Regions from separate parts of the Homo sapiens genome. Here all the other regions are linked to region 1. The links are contacts of gene promoters, found by promoter capture Hi-C in human tissues and cell types (Jung and others, 2019). All regions are on one chromosome and are shown on one strand. Each heading gives the region's core, a stretch centred on a gene start or on the middle of the fragment in contact. The rest is flanking DNA. Distances are from core to core; before and after follow the strand shown. Region 1 holds the start of PPDPF (pancreatic progenitor cell differentiation and proliferation factor). Region 2 overlaps ZBTB46 (zinc finger and BTB domain containing 46). Region 3 overlaps RTEL1 (regulator of telomere elongation helicase 1).

Region 1 (4,270 bases), core at 1,086-3,585:
TGCCTTCCCACCAGCTTCCCACCAACTAGTACAGCTATTTATAGTGCAGTGGAACAGGGTACCAGGCAGGGAGCACCCACTGATCCCCACCCCTCCCCAGAGTCCCTCCCCCACCACTGAACCCCACCCTTTCCCACCCCACGGAGGCCCCTCCTCTCACCATGTCCCTGGCCACACATCAAGTCTCCAGCTATCTCACTGACTCCCACCTGCTCACTAAGCTGCCTCTCAACAGAACTGAGTCAATCCCTGTAGGCTCCTGGCAGAGGTGTGGGGACACCACCCACCTTGGTTATGAAGGAGTCTACTAAGCTCACAGCCCATGCACTCCTGTGTGTGGACCCCCATCCCTGCCAGCCTGCAGCACTCCCGGACTCCAACACTCCATGCCTATACCAGGCCAGAATGATGCAGCCACCCTCACTTTAAGCTGGGCTGCCTGTGGCAGGAAGACCCCTCCACGGTGCCTGCAGCCCCTACCCCTCAGCCTGTCTTGGGGCAACACCCCTATGGGAGGCCCTTGGGAGACACCTACCAGCAGGAACCAGGTCCCTCCAGAGTGAGGGCTTCCCAGCTCACAGCCAGAGGCTACTCCCCGCCCCGCAGGCCCTCGGGTAAGGGGCCTGAATCCCTCAGAGGACCAGCCCTCCCTGCTCCCTTTCCCCCCGCTAAAGGTGGCACGGGGGCCCACCTCAGTGGCTGCCCTGGGTCCTGCTTGTCCAGCTCCAGGACTGCCTGCTGTCCAAGGCTCTCCAGAAGCAGCAGTGAACCCCACCCTTATCAGCCCCAGCAACAGCCTCACAGCGTGAGGAGGCCCAGAAAGGCCTGGGAGCAGGGCCAGCCCCCACAAGGCAGTGAGGTCGGGAGGGATTCAGCCATTTCTCACACTCAAATGGAACCTCGGGCCACACAGCTCAGGCACACACCATCGGGGCTACTGGCTGCTTGGAGTTTATTTTCCGCTTGGTGCCAGGTGCACAGTTCCAGGTGTCAGGAAAGCTAGCGAGTGCTGGGGCCGGGCGGTAGAGAGCGGGGCTCTCACTGGTTTTTGGTGTCTGCTGTGTTGATGCGAAGGTCTGCTTGCTGCAGCCGCCTAGTTTACAGGGTGGGGGGTGGGAGGTGGGGAGGGGGGCGAGGGATGCGGAGTGGGGAGAGGGGCGGGGAGGGGCTCTGGTGGACTAGCGCCTCCGCAGGCCTGGGGCTGGTGGTAACCGCTCAGGTCAGGACGGGGGCCCAGCGCTGGCTGTGCTGGACTGACCGCCGGGCTGCTTCCTCGGGGCGTCCCGAGCCAGGCCACAGGCGGTCATGCTGCTGGAGGCCTGGGGAGGTTCCGAGTGCTCTGCGGACTCCAACACCGTGGCCATGAACGGGAGGGTGGACTTCCCGAAAAAGAAGCTGGCCCACCAATGACCCGGGTCAGCCTTGGGGAGACCTGAGAGAAGCGAAGTGGGGTCTTGATGCTGCCAGCTCCTGGAGGAGCGGGGGGAGAAAGGGGCGATCCTGCACTCACCTGGGGGGTGGGGAATGGCTTCCCCGGGGCACTCGGTACTGCTGCAGGAGCTGTTGCTGGAAGTGGAACCCAGGCGGCCTGGAGAGGAGAGGTCCCGTCAGCAACGCGGGGCGCGGAGCCCCCCAGCCCACCGGCCTTCAGGCCGAGCGCTGGTTCCGCAGCCTGCACGGGGCCGGCACTGGCGCCAGCAGAGCATCCGCGTGGATGGGGGGCAGGGGCTACTCACGCCGGTAGTAGTCGTGGGTGGCCACGAGCGAGCCGCTGGAGGGGATGGCCGCCATGCTTTAGCTTGCTGGCTGGTGGGATCTGCGCATGGGGGTGGAGGAGCCCCTCGGGTCAGCGGCCTTCCGTCATGAAGGGCGCTCCCCAGCGGGTGGAGCCGCCGCGCTGGGTTATTTACCGAGGCGGGGCTCCCCAGCTCCCGGCACCGCCTTCGCCGCGCGGGGCGCGGGCGGCTCCAACCAGCCCAAACCGGCCGAGCGGGTGGAACAAAGGCGCTTTGTGCGCGGGGCCCCGGCCCAGACGTCGGGAACCTGGTGGGCGCCGTCCCAACCCGCCCGACCCGAGAGGAGCCCGCCGGGGACCCCGAGCCCAGCGCTCGCCAGGCGGAGAGGAGAGGAGCCCCCGGCCCAGCCCCGCCCCTCGCCCCCCGCCCCTCGGGCCTGCTCGTCCCACCCGCGCGCGGCGCCCCTCACCTGGGCGGCGACCCCTCGCGGGCCTCGGCGCACGATCACGGGTGGCGGGGACGGGGGCGCTAGGCCACGGAGCCCATTTGCAGAGAAGACCGCGGGAAGCCGCGCCACGACAGAGAGGCGCGCGCGGGGTGCGCACGCGCGGACGCGCCCACTTATATGCGCGGGGGCCGCGGCGCGTCACGGAGGGCGGGGCGCACAGGCTCCTCCCCGGGCCCCACCCGGCCCCGCCCCTTTCCTGGCCCCGGCGAGGCCGCGCCCCCAGCTTCCACCTCGGTGCGACTCTCGCCGTCTGGCTTGGGCTGAGCCCAGCCCTGCGGCGTTCGTCTTGGGGCGGCCCGGCCGGTCCTGGGTCTGCAGGGGTTAAAAGGCCCCGCGCCCGGGTCCGGGAGCCCAGCCCCCGCCCCTCTCCCGGGCCCAGGCCCCCGTCTCGGACGCGTCTCGGAGCCCCGCCTGGTCCAGCCCGCCCGTCCTCTTCAGCCCTTGTGGAGGCGACGGGGGCGCCGGGCGGGCCAAAAAGTGCTACGTGCGCGGAGCCCTCCGGCCCGGCCTCCAGGGACTTCGCAGCCAGAGGAACCTGGATCTCTCCCGAGTCCCCCTCACAGCTCTGGCAGCTCCGGAACCTGCACCCCGGTTGCCCAGCCCCAGGACGCGCCTGCTGCCCGCAGGGGGCGGTGAAAGGGTGGGCGGATGGCGGGGCAGTGGGAGGCGGGGCCCAGTCGGAGAGCGGGGCGGATTTGGGCGGGTGAGGTGAGTCTCCAGTCGCCGGAGGCAGAGGCTGGGCCCCACTGCTCGGAGACCCCATGTTTGGGGAGCCCAGAGCGTTCCCGGCAGGGCCCTGGGGCCCGGGGGACGGCCCGCCATGCCAATCAGGAGGGGGCGCGTTTTCCCTTCCCAGGCAGAAAGGCGTCCTCCCTCTCCTCCTCCCCCCAGCGCAGAATCCTCCCCACACCTCCCTCGGCCCCGCAGGGGAAATCGGCCTGCCCCTACGGAAATCCCGTTTCTTTATACACCCGGTCCTGGCTGGGCGGTGTCTTCCCCGTGGAAGAGAGGGTCCGGGAGGTCCGTGGGGCGGAACAGTCCGAGGGCTTCGGGAGTCAGCCCGGGTGGATTTGTTTCGTGGCTCTCGTTGCTGGCTGGGACGGCCGTGTGCCCGTGTTGTTCCGGAGATCGAGGCCAACGGATGCCGTACTCTGTCCTCGCCGGGTGCTCAGTGAGGACCCACAGCTGGGCAGGGACCCTGGGAGGCCCCTGAGCAAGACTTGGAGGGACGCCCTTGTGCCCCCTGAGCACGTGGGGAAGGCGCTGTCCTGGGCCCTGCACCGCTCTGTGTGTTCATTGCACGAGTGTGGTAAGCACCTACTATGTGCACATGGCCGAGCCAAGCGCAGGGAACGGTAAACCAAGGGAGAACGGCCTTCCCGTGGGGAGCAGTGCAGAGGCTGGCGGGGGCGGGTGGTGGGGAGAGCTCAGGTTTCAGCTGAGGTCTAAGGACGGAGGGCAGGGAACCGCCTGAGCCCCACCTGGGAGGGGGAGCTCGGTGCCGGAGAGCAGTGCCAGGACCTGCGATGGGAGAGGTGTGCAGCCCCGAGGGGTCACTGATGAGGCAGACGGGTCAGTTGGGTTGACACTCAGAGGGTCCTCAGGGGCAGACGCTGAGACGGGGTTTGGGGTTTGGGGTGCAGAGTGAGTACTGGTGATCAGCACCTGGGAAGGGGTGGGGAGGGTGCAGGGCCGGGCAGGGACTGTAGGGGCGGCCTGCGTTGGGCTTGGCTGGCACAGCCTTTGTGGCTTGCTTGGACCCATATGCAGCCGCCCAGGGACGGGAGACCCTGGTGAGGTGTCTGTGGTCCAGGCCCACCCTGAAGGAGCCGTGGGGCCGACTGCCGACCACGCCTGACAGCACGGCCTTCCAGGTCACCCGCTTCCCTCTAGGCTGGCCTGACCCAGCTCACCTCATTCTCAACCTCACCAGTCAACACCGGTCAACATCAGTCACAGAGCGTCTGAAAGGAGGAATTTTCATTTTCCTTTAAAGTGAAAAGGTAAAAACTGCATTTACTAAACC
Region 2 (4,270 bases), core at 446-2,945, 260 kb before region 1:
TTTTGATATCGTGCATACAGCCCCACTAGAGGGAGGGTACTCCACAAAGCCCTGGCTGGCCTGAGCTGACACTCGGAGGAATCCGTTGAATTCATGACTCAAGTCGTCACCTTTTGTTGTTTTTGTTGTTGTTGTTAAATAGAAGCTTTACTGAGAGATGATTCACACCCCACTCACCCATTTAAAGTCTGCAGTTCAGAGGTTTTTGGTATGGTATATTCACAGCATCCTGTAGCCATCAGCACAGTCCCCTTAGAACATTTTCCTCGGCTCAGAGGGAAACCCTGCACCACTTAGCCCTCATCCGAGACCCCTCCCCAGCCCCTTTTTGCAGCCACAAACCTACTTTCTGTCTTGATTTGCCTGTTCTGGATATTTAATGGAAATGAAATGGCATGTGGCCTTCTGTGTCTGGCTTTGTTCACTCAGCAGTTTTCAAGGCTCCTCTGCGTGGTTCTGTGTCTGGCTTCGTCCGCTGAGCATGTTTTCACGGCTCCTCTGTGTGGTGGCCTGTGTCTGTTCTTCATGCCTTTTCATGGCCACATAATATTCCATTGTGGGGATGGACCTGTTATGTTTATCCATTCGTCCATCGATGGACTTGTTGGCTGTTCCACCTTTTGGCTGTTATGGATAACGTGCTACGCGCGTCCTGGACGAGGTTTTCTGTGAGCTTTTGTGTCTTCATTTCTCGTGGGTATCTGCATGCGTACATGTGGAACTGCTGGGCCCCGTGGTGATTCCTGTACCTGATGTTGTGAGGACCTGCCGACCTGCTCCGCAGGAGGGCACCATGTTACACTCTTACCAGCAAGGTTCCAGGGTTCTGATTTCTTCCCATCCTTGCCAATATTATCTGATCTTTTTTGTTGTTGTTTTTGAGATAGGGTCTCACTCTGTCACCCAGACTGGAGTACAGTGGCTCGATCACAGCTCACCACAGCCTCAACCTCTCAGGCTCAAGTGATCCTCCCGCCGCAGCCTCCTGAGTAGCTAGGACCACAGGCACAACCCACCACACTCAGCTAATTTTGTTTTATTTTAACTTTTTGTCCTGCTGTGTTGCCCAGGCTGGTCTTGAACTCCTGTTCTCAATAGATCTTCCGGTCTTAGCCTCCCAAAATGTTGGGACTGGAAGCGTGAGCCACGGTGCCTGGCCTTTTTATATCCAGCCATCCCAGTGGGTGTGTGCTGGAACCGTGGCGTGTGCTGGAACCGTGGCGTGTGGTGGAACCGTGGCGTGTGCTGGAACCGTGGCGTGTGGTGGAACCGTGGCGTGTGCTGGAACCGTGGCGTGTGGTGGAACCGTGGCGTGTGGTGGAACCGTGGCGTGTGCTGGAACCGTATTGTGTGGTGGAATCGTGTTGTGTTTTGCGTTTCCTTAGTGATGGGTGATGCTGAGCATCTCTTCCTGTGCGTCTTGGCCATTTATACATCTTCTTTGGACAAATGTCTAGTAAGATTTTTTGCCCATTTTTATATTGAGTTACAGTATTTGCCTTTTTATTATCAGATATATAGGTTGCAATTTTTTTTTTTTTTTGAGACAGAGCGTTGTTCTGTCGCCCAGGCTAGAGTGCAGTGGTGTGATCTCGGCTCATTGCAACCTCCACCTCCTGGGTTCAAGCGATTCTCCTGCCGCAGCCTACTGAGTAGCTGGGATTACAGGCACGTGCCACCACGCCCGGCTAATTTTTGTATTTTTAGTAGAGATGGGGTTTCACCATGTTGGCCAGGCTGGCCTTGAACTCCTGACCTCAGATGATCCGCCCGCCTCGGCCTCCCAGAGTGCTGGGATCACAGGCTTGAGCCACCGCACCCGGCGTCACTTTCTTGGTAGTATCCTTTGAAGCACAGACATTTAATTTTGATGAGTCCAATTTATTTTGTTGCTTGTGCTTGGTTTTGTATCTAAGAACCTATTGCCAAATCTGAGATCATGCGGATTTTCTTCTAAGAATTTTATAGATTTAGCTCTAACGTCATTGATCCATTTTGAGCCTCTCCTCGTCTTTGCGAGATGGAAATACTGCCGCCCCAGGAGCCTCTGACTCTCAGGCCCTCGGCCCTGGAGCAGAGCAGGTACCAGGTCTGCAGCGCCTCGTCCAGGGAGGGCAACCCCGTTGTTCTGAGTTGAGCCGTCCTCCAAAGCCTTGGCTGAGACTCCACCGCAGCCATGGGACCTGGGTGGGCAGGAAAGGCCGGGCTGGGCCGAGGCTGCTGCATTGCTGGGGCAGGTGCCCGGCTCCCAGGGTGGGCTGGACTTGATGCTGCTCTGTAGCTCAGGCAGAAGCTGGTCGCTGTCCTTCTAAATGTGTCGCCTGTCCCACTTGGAGAGTCTGGGAACGACCCGTGTCTTCTGACGTGTGTCCCTCTGTCCCCAGATGCGGACCTGTCCGTCACCGAAGCCAGCAGCTCCGACAGCCGAGGAGAGAGGGCCGAGCTCTATGCACAGGTGGAGGAGGGTCTCCTGGGAGGAGAAGCCAGCTATCTGGGCCCTCCCCTCACCCCAGAGAAGGACGACGCCCTGCATCAGGCCACCGCGGTGGCCAACCTGCGCGCGGCGCTCATGAGTAAGAACAGCCTGCTGTCGCTGAAGGCCGACGTGCTGGGGGATGACGGCTCCCTGCTGTTCGAGTACCTGCCCAGAGGGGCCCACTCGCTGTCCCGTAAGTGCAGGCCCTGGGGGCCGCTTGGCTTTGGTGTGGTTTTGAAGGCTGAGGGTTGCAGGTCCCGGGCCAAGATGAGATGAGGCTGAGGGTCTGTCCCTGCTGCTCGGCCGCCTGCTGACCTCCCTGTTGCGGGAGGTGAGGATGCGGCGTCACAGCCTGGACTGGCCTCTCAGGTGCACGGGGGGCTGGCTTTAGAGTGAGGAGGGAATGGACGCGGTTGTGAGCGCGGCGGGCAGGGGAGCAGCCGAGTGCTTGCTGGAATGTTTCTCACAGGAGTCGTTGGCTGAATGCGAGCTCGTCCGGGTCGCGCAGGGGCCGGGGGTCTTTGTGCTCCAGAGACGGGCTCGGGCGCCCCCTGCCGGCCCCTCTGTCGCCTTCGTGCTGAGGCTCGTTTCGCGCAAGGGAGATGGGGGCGGCCGCTGCGAGCCGATTGCACTTGGGGGCCTCGCCTTGCGTTGCCTTCGCTGGATGATGCTGGTGGCGTGTGACTTTTAAAGATGCGTCGGAGGTTGTCTTTAAAACGTAAATGTCCCCAGCTGAATCCAAACGACGACGCGCCTGCCGAGATGTGGCCAAAAGTTCAGCCACTGCTGCGTGTCGGGCTCACCCCAGACTGACTGACTTCCTGACAAGACGGGGGCATTCAGCTTTCGGAGTTTAAAAAAACAAAGGGGCCGGGCGCGGTGGCTCACGCCTGCAATCCCAGCACTTTGGGAGGCTGAGGCGGGCAGACCACGAGGTCAGGAGATCGAGACCATCTTGGCCAACACGGTGAAACCCCGTCTCTACTAAAAATACAAAAAATTAGCCGGGCGTGGTGGCGGGCGCCTGTAGTCCCAGCTACTCGGGAGACTGAGGCAGGAGAATGGCGTGAACCCGGCAGGCAGAGCTTGCAGTGAGCCGAGATCGCGCCACTGCACTCCAGCCGGGGCGACAGAGGGAGACTCTGTCTCAAAAAAAAAAACAAAAAAAAAAACAAAAAAAACCCACCGCAGCCAGCCCCCAGCCAGCTGCCTTCTGGTCTCGCGCTCATGTGGGCCCCCGGGCAAGGCCTGGTGCTGGCACCTAGCACATAGCTGGCACTCAGCATGCGGCTGAGAGTGAGTGAGGCGCCTCCCGTTTCTCTCCAGGGGAGGAGGGAGCGAGTCCGGCATGAGATGCCCCCACCTCCGCGGCTGGGGTCCAGGCGTGCTGAGTGGTGTGGACACATTGTTTGCTGAGTATTGAGGGAAGTGAAGGAAGGAAACGTGCCAGCTGTCCTTGATGCTGGGATTTGGGAAGTATATCTGTTTCTCTGTTTCTTTACGCTGCTCTAAAAAACAATATTTTTACAACTTTGTTTTCATAAGCACTAAAATATTCTTTCGAATTTTCGCGTTGGTGTGAGCACTGATGCCAACTGTTTGTGGGTAATAAAGACTACATGTGGAAAGTGGTGTTCACCTTCCCTTTATTCCGTGTACTCAGTGAGGAGCCGTGTCCGTCGAAGGGTCTTGGCCCTGAAAGTGAGGCTCAGGGCTGAGCACTGCACAGACGGGACAAGCTGTGGGTGCTGGGCTGTCACAGACATCCTGAGGCCTCACTTCCCACATCTGAAA
Region 3 (4,270 bases), core at 474-2,973, 150 kb before region 1:
AGTGAGTGGATGACAAGGTCAGGAGTTTGGGACCAGCCTGGCCAACATGGCGAACTGCCGTCTCTACTGAAAATACAAAAATTAGCCGGGTGTGGTGGCGGGTGCCTGTAGTCCCAGCTACTCGGAAGGCTGAGGCAGGAGAACTGTTTGAACCCAAGAGGCGGAAGCTGCAGTGAGCCAAGACCACACCACTGCACTCCAGCCTGCACCACAGAGCGAGACTCCATTTCAAAACAAAAAACAAAAACACAAAAAACAGTAGGTCCTCCTCAATGGGCCTCTCTGGGTTAGCATGTCCGAGACTCATCGGCTCCCTGCTGCTGTGTGACCACAGTCCACGCCCGTGGCTGCTGTTAGTGTTCGGGTACCACGGTCTGTCCATTCACCTGTGGATGGGCTCACGCGGGCTGCTTCCCAGTTTTGGCAACTGCAAACAAAACTCTGGTAAACCTGCACACTGAAGTCTTTTCTTTTTTCTTTTTTTTTTTTTTTGAGATGGGGTCTCCCTATGTTGCCTAGGCTGGTCTCAAACTCCTGGGCTTAAGCGATCCCCCAGCCTTGGCCCCTAAAGTTCTGGGATTACAGGCGTGAGCCACTGAGCCTGGCCACATATGAATCTTTGAACACGTCTTCCCTTCTCCCGGCTCGGCTGTTTGCCACACGTTTGTGGAGTGGCTACACAACTTCACAGCGATGGATGAGATCCAGCTGTTCCACATCCTCATGCCACACTCAGGGCTTCTGAATTTCAGCCATGCCAGTGGGACCACAGTGTCGGCTCCCCGTGGCTTTAATCTGCCTTCTCCTATGACTGGAGATGCTGGGCGACTTTCCATGTGCTCAACTGGTCATTCCATCCACCTTGGTGAAACGTCTGTCCGGATGCTCTCCCAGTGGTTAACTGGCCATTCCACCCATCTTGGCGAAACGTCTGTCCGGATGCTCTCCCAGTGGTTAACTGGCCATTCCACCCATCTTGGCGAAACGTCTGTCCGGATGCTCTCCCAGTGGTTAACTGGCCATTCCACCCATCTTGGCGAAACGTCTGTCCGGATGCTCTCCCAGTGGTTAACTGGCCATTCCACCCATCTTGGCGAAACGTCTGTCCGGATGCTCTCCCAGTGGTTAACTGGCCATTCCACCCATCTTGGCGAAACGTCTGTCCGGATGCTCTCCCAGTGGTTAACTGGCCATTCCACCCATCTTGGCGAAACGTCTGTCCGGATGCTCTCCCAGTGGTTAACTGGCCATTCCACCCATCTTGGCGAAACGTCTGTCCGGATGCTCTCCCAGTGGTTAACTGGCCATTCCACCCATCTTGGCGAAACGTCTGTCCGGATGCTCTCCCAGTGGTTAACTGGCCATTCCACCCATCTTGGCGAAACGTCTGTCCGGATGCTCTCCCAGTGGTTAACTGGCCATTCCACCCATCTTGGCGAAACGTCTGTCCGGATGCTCTCCCAGTGGTTAACTGGCCATTCCACCCATCTTGGCGAAACGTCTGTCCGGATGCTCTCCCAGTGGTTAACTGGCCATTCCACCCATCTTGGCGAAACGTCTGTCCGGATGCTCTCCCAGTGGTTAACTGGCCATTCCACCCATCTTGGCGAAACGTCTGTCCGGATGCTCTCCCAGTGGTTAACTGGCCATTCCACCCATCTTGGTGAAACGTCTGTCCAGATCCCTTCCCAGTGGTTAAGTGGGTTGTTTGCTTAGTTATGGGAGAATTTTACATACTCTGGTCAAAGGTCCTTTCAAATCAGAGGAGGGCTGAAAAAATTTTTTAAGTCCTTTGAAAGAAGTATTTTCTCCCTTTCTTTAACTGCTTTTTCATTTTCTCAACTCTTCCACAGAGTTGAAGCTTTAAATTTTGGTGAAGTCTAAATTTTAATGTTTTTCTTCATGGCTAGTGCCTTGTGTATCCATACTAAGAAATCTCTGCCTACCCCAAAGTTGCAAAGACCTCCCCCATGTTCCTTTCTATAACTTTTAGTTTAGCTTTTACATTTAGGTTTATACAGGGTAAAACAAGAGTTAAGATTCACTGTTTTCCGAACAGATATCCAGCTGTTCTTAGCACCATTTTTTCAGAAAACCAGAAATCAACCTTCATTTCCTCTCTCAATTAAATTGGCATGTTTGTCAAAAAACAATCACCAAGGGCCAGGCATGGTGGCGCACGCCTGTAATCCCAGCTACTCGGGAGGCTGATGTGGGAGAATCGCTAGAACCTAGGGGCGGGGGCTGCAGTGAGCCGAGATGGTGCCACTGCACTCCAACCTGGGTGACAGAGTGAGATTCCAACTGAAAAAAAAAACAATGACCACATGCGTGTGGGTCAGCTTGAGCTTGCTGCCTTCTCCATGGCCTGCAGGCCTGTGCCTGAGCTGGGCCATCTCCACCTCCACTCCTGCAGCTTTAGAGGAGTCTTGAAACCAGCGAGGTGAGTCCTCCAGCTCTGTTCTTCTTCACGGTCATCTTGCTGTTTTAGATCTTCTGCGTTTCCGTGAAAGTGTTAGACTCGGCTTACCAGCTGTGATATAACTGTCCCAGGGAGGGGCCTGGTTGGGTTAGAAGCTCTCCAGATGGTTCCCAGGGGCAGCCAGGGCTCAAAGCACCGAGTCACCCACAACCACGGCAAACCTCACCAGCTCTCTGTGGGGTTCTGCTACAGCTTCCCAGGAGTCGGCCCCCCAGCCGCCCCCACTCACCTCTTCCCTTGCTCTGCTGCACCTGCTGAGGCTCCCCTCAGACCCACCAGCATTCCCCACCTCCCGCCGACATCGCACTTGGGCCCGCTTGGCTCGGTCTCCGCCTCCTCCCTCTGCTCTATTTCCCTTCAGTATCATCAGCTCACGTGCTTACTCTTTTGCTGTCCACCTGTCCCCACCACTAGAATCAAAGCTCCATGTGAGTGAAGCCAGTCTTGCTATGCCTGGAATAGCACCCAGCATGATGAGCTCTCAATAAATATACACCCCGAGAATGAGCGAACCAACGACGGGATCTGGAAACGTCACCACGCCATCGTCACGTGAACACACAAACCATTGACCCGTGGCGTGTGATCCCACCTGCACTAAGTAAAAAGTGTGGGGCACAAAAGCAGGGCACATGGGGAGGAGGGCAGCAGGGCCGGGCACACACTGGGAGGAGGGGAGTTGAGTGTGGGGCCGGGCACATGCTGGCGGGGGGAGTGAGCGTGGGGCTGGGCACACGGGGCGGAAGGGAGTGGGGCTGGGCACACACTGGGAGGAGGGGAGTGAGTGTCAGGCCGGGCACATGCTGTGGGGGGAGTGAGTGTGGGGCCGGGCATGCACTGGGAAGAGGGGAGTGAGTGTGAAGCCGGGCACATGCTGGGAGGGGGAGTGAGTGTGGGGCCGGGCACGCGCTGGGAAGAGGGGAGTCAGTGGGCTTCCTGTGTTCTCGGTGCCTCCCATGGCCTGACGTGAAGGAGAGAACCTGAGCTGTCAGGATCAAGAGCGGGCACTGGCCTATGGACCACAGCCTGGAGGTCTCTCCTCACTCCCACCAGCCTGCCCGCTCCCAGACTGCTCAGAAAACTGACCTGTGGCCTGGGGCTGCTCACAAGTGTGTCTGGCCAGGTTGAGCCCCTGCCCAGTGACAGAGGTGAGTCCTCCCACCCAGGCCTGCTGATCTAAGGCCCTGAAGCAGCAAAGGCTCGGACAGCTGTTCCCAAGCCCAGGGACACCCCTGGACATCAGGAGTCGTCAGCTACAGGACTGAGCCCCCACCTTGGCATCCAACAAGTAATTGTACGGCATGAATATGATGTCGGCTTGCTGCTTCAGGTTCCGGGACAGGTAGTAAGGGCACACCCTGGGAAGGAGAGAGGAGAAGATCCTGTGAGCACCCCATGCAGGGGACGGTGCCCCGAGGCCGCCATGTCTTCTGACCCGGAAGGAGCCCTCATCCTGCACGTAGGGCCCAGGTGGGAAGCTGCTGCCTGGGATGGATGGGAGTCCACGTGAGTTTCTGACCAAGGGATGGGGAGTCCATGTGAGTTTCCGACCAAGGGATGGGGAGTCCTCGTGAGTTTCCGACCATGTAAATCGTCGTCTCTTTAAAAACTCGATGGAAAAGTAAAACCAACCCTATTCCTGGATAGAAACAAACACAACGCAGAACCACTAAGAAAAAGCAGAGCTGGGCCGGGCGCGGTGGCTCACTCCTGTAATCCCAGCACTTTGGGAGGCCGAGGTGGGCGGATCACAAGGTCAGAAGATCGAGACCATCCTGGCTAACACGG

Evidence for each region. The method cuts DNA at HindIII sites, captures the fragments that hold promoters and counts their contacts. A contact is called where the count stands out against the background at its distance.
Region 2: a contact is called between a fragment that was not itself captured here and the fragment with the promoter of PPDPF in region 1, in 1 of the 25 tissues and cell types used here (spleen).
Region 3: a contact is called between a fragment that was not itself captured here and the fragment with the promoter of PPDPF in region 1, in 1 of the 25 tissues and cell types used here (pancreas).

The regions. Positions count from the first base shown.
Region 1 is chr20:63,518,830-63,523,099 of GRCh38, reverse strand. It overlaps PPDPF (pancreatic progenitor cell differentiation and proliferation factor), which reads right to left and starts at 2,335. Exons shown (of 4, transcript NM_024299.4): 1 at 2,206-2,335; 2 at 1,737-1,816; 3 at 1,511-1,588; 4 at 894-1,432. The coding sequence starts at 1,791. The coding sequence ends at 1,221. It overlaps LOC102723814 (a long non-coding RNA gene), which reads left to right and starts at 2,427. Exons shown (of 2, transcript XR_430332.4): 1 at 2,427-4,270. RefSeq lists silencers at 1,883-2,082, 2,193-2,742, 2,803-3,052 and enhancers at 2,325-3,201, 3,202-4,078, 4,079-4,270. The HindIII fragment of the contact is 19,807 bases long and covers 1-4,270 here.
Region 2 is chr20:63,774,077-63,778,346 of GRCh38, reverse strand. ZBTB46 (zinc finger and BTB domain containing 46) reads left to right here. Exons shown (of 5, transcript NM_001369741.1): 3 at 2,385-2,669. Among named protein-coding and RNA genes, the nearest start is that of ZBTB46-AS1, 32 kb to the left of the region's middle. RefSeq lists an enhancer at 1-427. The HindIII fragment of the contact is 8,553 bases long and covers 1-4,270 here.
Region 3 is chr20:63,667,039-63,671,308 of GRCh38, reverse strand. RTEL1 (regulator of telomere elongation helicase 1) reads right to left here. Exons shown (of 35, transcript NM_001283009.2): 8 at 3,756-3,840. RTEL1-TNFRSF6B (RTEL1-TNFRSF6B readthrough (NMD candidate)) reads right to left here. Exons shown (of 38, transcript NR_037882.1): 8 at 3,756-3,840. Among named protein-coding and RNA genes, the nearest start is that of RTEL1, 11 kb to the right of the region's middle. The HindIII fragment of the contact is 4,863 bases long and covers 1-4,154 here.